Linked DNA regions of Homo sapiens: all the other regions are linked to region 2. The links are contacts of gene promoters, found by promoter capture Hi-C in blood cells and fetal thymus (Javierre and others, 2016). All regions are on one chromosome and are shown on one strand. Each heading gives the region's core, a stretch centred on a gene start or on the middle of the fragment in contact. The rest is flanking DNA. Distances are from core to core; before and after follow the strand shown. Region 1 holds the start of RAB14 (RAB14, member RAS oncogene family). Region 2 holds the start of CNTRL (centriolin). Region 3 has its middle 23 kb from the start of GSN.

Region 1 (2,700 bases), core at 197-2,696, 130 kb after region 2:
GGCGCCGCCCGCCTGCGGCCCAGTCTCCACCGTCCCCACACACGCCCCTCTGAAGAACCCGGCGCGAGGAGGTATCAGCCGGCCGGACACTACGGAAGGCCCGGGTTACCTGGGGGGTTGCTGGTGGCTGGGCAGCTTTCCGGGCGGGAGGGGGGCGTCAGGACCAGGAACAGGAGTGCGGACGCAGCGGGAGAGGGGGCGGGGGCGGTCGACCGAGGCGCCGGCAGGTACACTGGCAGGCCGAGAGGTGCAGACGCGCCGGCAGCAGTAGCGGCAGTAGCAGTGGCAGCGGTGACTGCTCCTGTGCTCCCTCAGTATCTTCCTCGGGCTGGTCCAAGATGGCGGCGCTCCCTGCACAGGGTTTCCTGTCACCCTCGCAATGGGCCGGACCACAAAAGAAGGGGGAGAAGATGCGCGCGCAGCTGGCGGAGCCCGGAAGAGGGTGGCTGAGGCCAGCCCGCTAGCCACGCCCCTTCCTCAGCCCTCACCTCTGGACTTGTCGCGCCGCCGCTGAGGCCCGCCCCACGGGCGCTCGCGCCCGGAGGGAAGGTGGAAAGCGCGTATGCGCAAGCGCAGTCGCGTGTCCTCGCCTCTTGGGGGAGCTACTGCGCAGGTCTGCGTGGAACCTGGTGGGGTGCGCCTGCGTCTTGGAGAACTAGGGTTGTCGCTCGTGGAGACTTTTGAACAATTTTTAAAGCCAACATTTACCACTTATTGGACGCTTACCGTATACTGGCCACCATGCTAAGCATGCATTTACTGCATTCATTCAACGTGTATTTATGGGGGCATTTACTGTATATACCGCTGTATGCTTCGTATATACCGGTCCTGTCCAACAAACGTCGGAGGCACGCATCCCCATTGTATCCATGGAGAAACTGAGGCTCAGGTTGGTCAACTCTCTTGTCCAAGATCACGCAGCTAGGAAGTGACCCTGCATTTCATCTCTATTTTGACTTCACTTTGGGGTTGCCTTTGACAGGGTGAGAGAAATGTGATATTTTTCACAATTTGTCTACCACCTGCCATCTTCCAACTTGCTCTGCCATAATCACTGCCCCAGAAGGTTTCGTGCTTTTCGGGTGCAGGGACACGTTTTGACTTTCTTGGACCCTGAGCACTTTTGCCTTGTGGCTTGTACATTACACACACACATATATTTCACACACATGTAAGTTAAATATATGTATAAATATTTAACATATTTTACAACTGCATTGATATAAACATGACGTATCAATATTATATAACAAAATATTTTCTCTGACCTGAAAGTTCATTTTTTTCTTCTGACTTTAAAAGAATGTAAGCCGGCCGGGCGCGGTGGCTCACGCCTGTAATCCCAGCACTTTGGGAGGCCACGACGGGCGGATCACGAGGTCAGGAGATCGAGACCATCTTGGCTAACACGGTGAAACCCCGTCTCTACTAAAAATACAAAAAAATTAGCCGGGCGTGGTGGCGGGCGCCTGTAGTCCCAGCTACTCGGGAGGCTGAGGCAAGAGAACGGCGTGAACCCGGGAGGCGGAGCTTGCAGTGAGCCGAGATCGCGCCACTGCGCTCCAGCCTGGGCAACAGAGCGAGACTGTCTCAAAAAAAAAAAAAAAAGGAACGTAAGCAAGGAGGGCTGGTAGTCTGCGCCTGTAATCCTAGCTACTGGGGAGGCTGAGGAGAGAGGATCGCTTGAGCCCAGGAGTTCTGGGCTGTAGTGCACTGTGTCACTAGATAGAGTGTCTGCACTTAAGTTCAGGAGGGAGGGACCACCCAGGTTGCCTAAGGAGGGATGAACCGGCCCAGGTCGGAGATGGAGCAGGTCAAAACTCCCGTGCTGATCAGTAATGGGATCATACCTGTGAACAGCCACTGCACTCCAGCCTGGGCAACATGGGGAGACCCTGTCTCTAAAATAAATAAATATTCATTTTTGTTGGCCCCTAAAAGTATTGGAGGCCCTAAGCCCTGTGCATACTGTACTGTGCCTAATGGATAAGGTGGCCCTGCCTTAGTTCCCCACCCCCAAATTAAATCAATCTTTCTCTTAGCGTTCAGGACCTTTTATGAACTGGTTCTGCCATGAACAAGTGAGATTTCACTGTAAAAGTGTGTGCCAGTTTGTACATCTCATATTTTCAGAGACCTGGGTTCGAATTCCTGCTCTATAATCTAATGGTATGCAGTTGTGCATGTCACTTGATTTCTGAGATTGTCAGTCTTTTCTGCAATATGAAAATAGTAATATCTCTCTCAAATAGGTCTTTGTGAAAATTAAATGGGATAGTATATGCAAAATATCTGGTATATAATAAGAAATGGAAATGATTATTACATGATAATCTAATCTAAGGTGATATTGAAATCCTTTTGCAACCCTAGAGGTCTAGGCTTCTATTTCCACATTCTTTAATAAGTATAGTTTGTTGTCACACTTTAACATTTTTGAAACTAAGAAATTTGCCTGTGCCAAGTAAAGGAGAAAACTGTGAACCAATGATCATTAATTGCCCAGGTATGAACTTAGACCTGGCTAGTAAGTTTCCTTATAGCCATTATCACCTGAAGGGAGATCTTTATGTATAGCTGATGTTTATTCAACACTTACTATGTACCAGCAACTGTCCTAAGAATCATGCATATTTTCTCATTTAATCCTTACCACATCCGCATGAAGTCAGTACTATATTTACCCCATTTTATGAA
Region 2 (2,700 bases), core at 6-2,505:
GACGGCGTTTCACCTTGTTGGCCAGGCTGATCTTGAATTCCTGACCTCAAGTGATCCTCCCACCTTGGTCTCCCAAAGTGCTGGGATTACAGGCATGAGCCACAGCGCCCGGCCAGGATTCACTTTTATAATTATCAGGAAAACTGTAGGAAGTGTTAATAGGTAAAAGGACCTCATTTCATAGATAAGGAAACTGAGACACAGAGAGAGAGGGAGTTTCTAAAAGTGTTATACAGGTGGCCTATAAACTCTGTAGTGAAGAAAGGAAATGAAGACAGGATAGAATGATCGCGAGAAAATGGTAAGAACAAGGGACTGGAAGACGCAAGGAAGTTTAGAAATACGCTGGCATAGGGGTCTTTTGAGCAGGCACGCTGCTAAGATGATAGGATTATAGTCAAGGATGGGGAGCGATTGCACTGGGGATTTCTGGAGCGGGTGCAGCCTCTGATGGTAACATGGTCCAGGGTATACCTTCAAAACGGGAGGCTACTGGAGTGAAAGGCGTCAATGGTGATAACACTTTAAAAAAAACTTCAGTGTTTCCCTAGCATCCAGCCCAGTATCTGCTAAATTCTTTAAAATATCTGTTGAATGCATGTCGTGAACGCCGTGCTCATGGGCAAGCCCCAGATGAAGCCTGTGCAAGTGCTTCTTGCTTTAACTCCCTTGTAGCAATCAGAGGAACATCCTCTGCCTAGGATTCCCAAGCTCCCTGAACCTCACGCGACAGCTGGAGCCCAGGCTGCGTCCGCTTTGAGGTTCATCCGAGCCTGGGCAGTTCGGTCCCTGGAGGGAATTCGCTTTAGATACGACTGTCAGAGAGAAGTGTGCTGATAAGAACACTCGCTCATAGCGCGCAAGCATCAGAAGTGGGGGAGGCCGGGGAGGCGCTGCGCCGGTGCCTCAGGCCGTCCTCGGACACAGGCCCTGAGAAGCGTGTCCGTGTTTCAGAGGGTGGCGGCGGCAGCTTTGTCTCAGCGAAGGCCACAGCACTGCGGGCAGCTGCCGCATGAAACCTCGGCTCCCCCTGACTCTGCACCCGACACTTCACCTGCAACGCAATCCGAAGGCGAAGGCACCGCATCCCGTCGGCCCCGCGCGGCCGGAAGCCTCGCGCCCAAGACTCCCCGGCATCCTAGCGCGCTGGCTGCAAAAGAGGCGGGAAACGCCTCCGCGTCCCTTCCAACAGTACCGGAGAGGGAGAGGGGCGTGGCTGAGACTAGCCCCGACCACGCGCGCGCGGCCCCTCGGCAACCGGCACAACACAACAAAATGGCTGCCGCGCCGCTGGGCCCCTGAGGAAAGAGCCCGAACTTCTCCCGCTCTACCTCAGCCTGCGGGACTGCTCGGCTCGGCTTCTAGGCGGTGAGCGTCAGACCTGGCCGAGCCCGTTCCCCGGCATCCGGCCCGAGCAGTGGGGGCCGGCGGCAAAGGCGGGAAGGCCCGGACCGGGCGTGGTGTGGGCCGGCTTGGGATGGATTCGGGGCGGGGGCGCGTGTCTGGGAATTGGGATTGGACGGGAAAGAGGGGAGGGCCCGGAACGGGCGTGGGGCGGTGGATGAAGGAGGGAGGTTTGGATGGGAAGAGGTGGGGACGGCGGGGGCGATTGGGGATGAAGAACCAGAGTGTGGGGAGGTGTGGAAGTTAGGGTGCGGCGCCCAGAAGGTTGTGGGTCCTGCCACCTGAGCTGAGGGGAGAGCTGGGATGTGCCAGCTGTCTGTGGGGAGTGAGCGGGAGAAAGGACAGTTTGGGCGTCCTGACGGGTTGTCACGGTATCGGACGGAGTACAGTGCGTGGAGAAAGATGACAGGATATGGGGACGAAATGCTAAAAGAAGGGGAAGAACAAACACTTCCGTTATATTCGTTAAGGGACTAGAGAATTTTGAAGCCAGACAAACTTGGGTTGAAGCCTCAATTCTGCCACCTTGTGTAACTTAACCAGGTCTGTGACCCTGGATATGTGTCTGAGCCTTCCTGATCATGTTTCCTCATTTGTCCAAATAATTGCGAATCATTTTTGGGTGTTCACTATTTGTCAGATCCAGTTTTAAGCACTTTGCACGTATTAACCTCATTTAGAATTTAAAATAACTTGTATGAGGTTATCATCCCCATTTAAAAAGTGATAGCACTGAGGACCAGAGAGGTTAAGTAATTTGCCTAAGATCACACAGTAAGTGGAAAATCAGAATTTGAACTCAGGCTGTTTCGTTCCAGAATCCAAGCTTTTAACTGTTCAGGTACATTGCCATTTGTAAATCAGGTTAATAATTCTGATCCTATACAGCTAAATCTTTGAGGATTTAAATTTGGTATTGTCTAAGTGTTTAGTACAGTCCTTCAGTCAACAAATATTTATTGTTTATAGAACAACAGACAAAACCTCTGCTCTCTTGTAGCTTATAGTCTAGAAGGAGAAACAGGCAACAACCAAGTAGTTTCACAAATAATGGTTATAAAATGCTATGAAGGAGACTGCTTGGTGCAGAGATCATGGGTAATAGGGAGATAAAATCTTCTGCATCTTGAGCTTAGATTCTAGCATGGTTCTTCCTACATAAAAGTTGCTCAATAAAATTGAATAATTAATGGAAAGAGATGGGAAGCTTGAGTTTTAGGGTATCTGAGCAGAAGAAGAGAGATGGGAGAGGGGATTCAGGCTTTTAATAGGATGGAGAAGGATACGGGGGCTAGA
Region 3 (2,700 bases), core at 12-2,511, 170 kb after region 2:
ATATTGTCTTTTTGAGAATGTATAAATGGAATCATAGCATATGTAGCTTTTTAAATCTGGCTTCTTTCCCTTAGCACAGTGCATTTGAAATTCATCCATGTTGTAGTGGGTCAGAAGTTTGTTCCTTTTTATCATTGGGTAGCAATTAGATTAAATAGATGTATCACAATGTATTCATCAGATGAAAGAAACTTGAATTGCTTCTAGTTTTTGGTGATTATGAATAAAGCTTCTATAAATGTTCAGGTACAGACAAATGTGAAAATATGTTTTCATGTCTCTTGAGTAAATATGTAGGAAAAGGATTGTTGGCCGTATTATAAATATATTGCATGTTACATTTTATAAGAGACTGGCAAAATGTTTTCCAAAGTGGCTGCACCATTTTGCATTCCCACTAGTAATGTATGAGAGTTCCAGTTGCTCCACAACCTCATCAGCATTTAGCATTGTCAGTTTTCTTTCTCTTAATTTTAGCCATTCTGAGAGGTAGGCAGTGGTATAGTAATCCCACTTCTAGATAGCTATCACAAATATGCAGTAGCAAAAATATAAAAAGGTGCATGTGCAAGGCTAGCCACTGCAGCTCTATTTGTAATAGCAAGAAAATGGAAACTCAAATTTTAATCGATGGAAAACTAATTGAATAAATGATGGTACATCCCCCAAATGAAGTATTATGCAGCTACTACAAGGGACAAGAAATTACTCCACTACTATGTGTGATCTCCAGGATATATTTTTAAGTAAAAAGAGAAAAGTATGTATAGTATGCAATCATTTATCTACAAATAAGAGAAAAACTATAAAAATTTAATAAAATATTCCCATAGCAAAAGGGAAAGAATAGAAAGGAAGGTACAGGGATGGAAGCTAGGCTTCTAAAAATATAGCTTTAGAAGCTAGCTTCTAAAAAAAAAGTAGATTTAACTTTGGAACAATGTAAACATTTTATGTAATTACATGCAAAATTAAGAAAAAATCAAATTCCTAGAAAGTAAAAATAATGTTAAATTAAAATGACCCTGTGTGTCCAGTTGATGACGTAACCACACAAAGAAGACTTTAGTGACCTTAAATCACTATCATTCGATTCTATACTCCTAGAAGACTATATCTGGCAAAAAGAGCTGTGTATTACAGGATGAAAATAATAATTATGTTGATGTCCTTAAAAATTAAGATATTTGGCATAGTTGATAGGAGATATAAATCTAAGATTGATAAGATTGAGCAAAAAGTCTATAGTCCTCCACTTCAATTGGAAGTATCAGTATGGATGCATTATACCTTTTCTTTCTTTCTTTCTTTCATTTTGAGTCAGGGTCTCACTCTGTCACCCATGCAGGAGTGCAGTGGCATGATCAGGGCTCACTGCAGCCTTGACCTCCTGGGCTCAAGCAATCCTCATGCCTCAGCCCCTCTAGTAGCTGGAACTACAGGTGTGCACCACCATGCCCAGTTAATTTTTTAAAAACATATTATTAGAGACAAGGTCTCACTTTGTTGCCCAGGCTGGTCTCAAACTCCTGAGCTCAAGCGATGCTCCTGCCTCGGCCTCCCAAAGAATTGGGATTATAGGCATGAACCACTGAGCTTTGTCCCTTTTATCTTTAGAAAACAATATACATCTCCTAGCTATGCCTACTAAAAATAATTGAAATTCAAGTAAACTGTGAAAAGAAAAACACTTTTTAAAAAAGAGACGAGGTCTTGCTAAGTTGCCCAGGCTGGAGTGCAGAGGCTATTCACAGGTGCAATCATGGCTCTCTATAGCCTTGAACTGTTGGGCTCAAGTGACCCTCTTGCCTCAGCCTCTTGAGTAGCTAGGACTACAGATGTGTGCCACCGTGCCCAGCTTGAAAAACGCATTTAAAAGACAACCAGAGAAATATAAATGTTATAGTATATTTACTGAAACTCAGAAATGATTGTCAATATGTTAAACTGTGATAATGGTATTGTATTTTTTAAAAAGAACTTGTACCTTTTAGAGATATATTCTGAAATATTTATAGAAGAAATAATATATCTAAGATTTGCCTCAAAATTATCTGAGGGCAGGGAAAGGAAAGGTATGTGAACACGTAGATGATTCAGGATGAGTATTTAGTGGCAATTGTAAAAGCTGGGTGGTGGGCACATTAGGATCATTATACTACTCTTTCTACATTTGAGTGGTTTTAACATTTTCCATAATAAAAAAGTTTTTTTTTTAAAAAGGAGATGTGAAGATAGTTGTCTGAGGATGCTATGCTCAGAGCTGCTGCAGTCACTTTGTGAGAATGAAAGAGCAAGCTTGAGGCCTAAAGCATCCAATTTGATAGGTATTCCATTTCTATGAATTCAAATTTCTTAACTTAATTATAAAGCTAGTTAATGCGAAAATGAGGCAATTATCATGGACACAAATATTGAAACTAGGGTTTATCCATGTATATTCATGAGACTTTTTTGGTTGCAACTAATAGAAACCTTAGCATAGTTTAGGCAAAATTTAGAGATTTATTATGGAAATTCAGAATTCTAGGACAGAAGTGCCACCAAGACTCATGAAGAACATAGTTCACAATATCAGGTCCCTCCATATCCTTTCTCCAGCTCTCATCGCCGCTCTTCAGCATTACCATGACTGTCTATCACCACCCTCTCATTGCAGACCAGCTTCCTTCATTTTCCAGCCCACATCATGGAAAACTT

What was found. The method cuts DNA at HindIII sites, captures the fragments that hold promoters and counts their contacts. A CHiCAGO score of 5 or more calls a contact.
Region 1: a fragment that was not itself captured here is called in contact with the fragment with the promoter of CNTRL in region 2 in 9 of 17 cell types (total B cells, naive B cells, naive CD4 T cells and 6 more); the score reaches 8.8 in total B cells.
Region 3: a fragment that was not itself captured here is called in contact with the fragment with the promoter of CNTRL in region 2 in 1 of 17 cell types (total B cells); the score reaches 5.2 in total B cells.

Annotation. Positions count from the first base shown.
Region 1 is chr9:121,201,530-121,204,229 of GRCh38, forward strand. RAB14 (RAB14, member RAS oncogene family) reads right to left here and starts at 340. Exons shown (of 8, transcript NM_016322.4): 1 at 110-340. It also overlaps a transcript of GSN not described here and the pseudogene RN7SL181P. RefSeq lists a silencer at 1-261 and enhancers at 1-453, 272-491, 762-921. The HindIII fragment of the contact is 7,258 bases long and covers 1-2,700 here.
Region 2 is chr9:121,073,700-121,076,399 of GRCh38, forward strand. It overlaps CNTRL (centriolin), which reads left to right and starts at 1,256. Exons shown (of 44, transcript NM_007018.6): 1 at 1,256-1,368. It also overlaps a transcript of C5 not described here. RefSeq lists silencers at 520-716, 1,341-1,400, 1,521-1,660 and an enhancer at 831-1,220. The HindIII fragment of the contact is 4,047 bases long and covers 1-2,228 here.
Region 3 is chr9:121,244,058-121,246,757 of GRCh38, forward strand. It overlaps a transcript of GSN not described here. Among named protein-coding and RNA genes, the nearest start is that of GSN, 23 kb to the right of the region's middle. The HindIII fragment of the contact is 2,069 bases long and covers 228-2,296 here.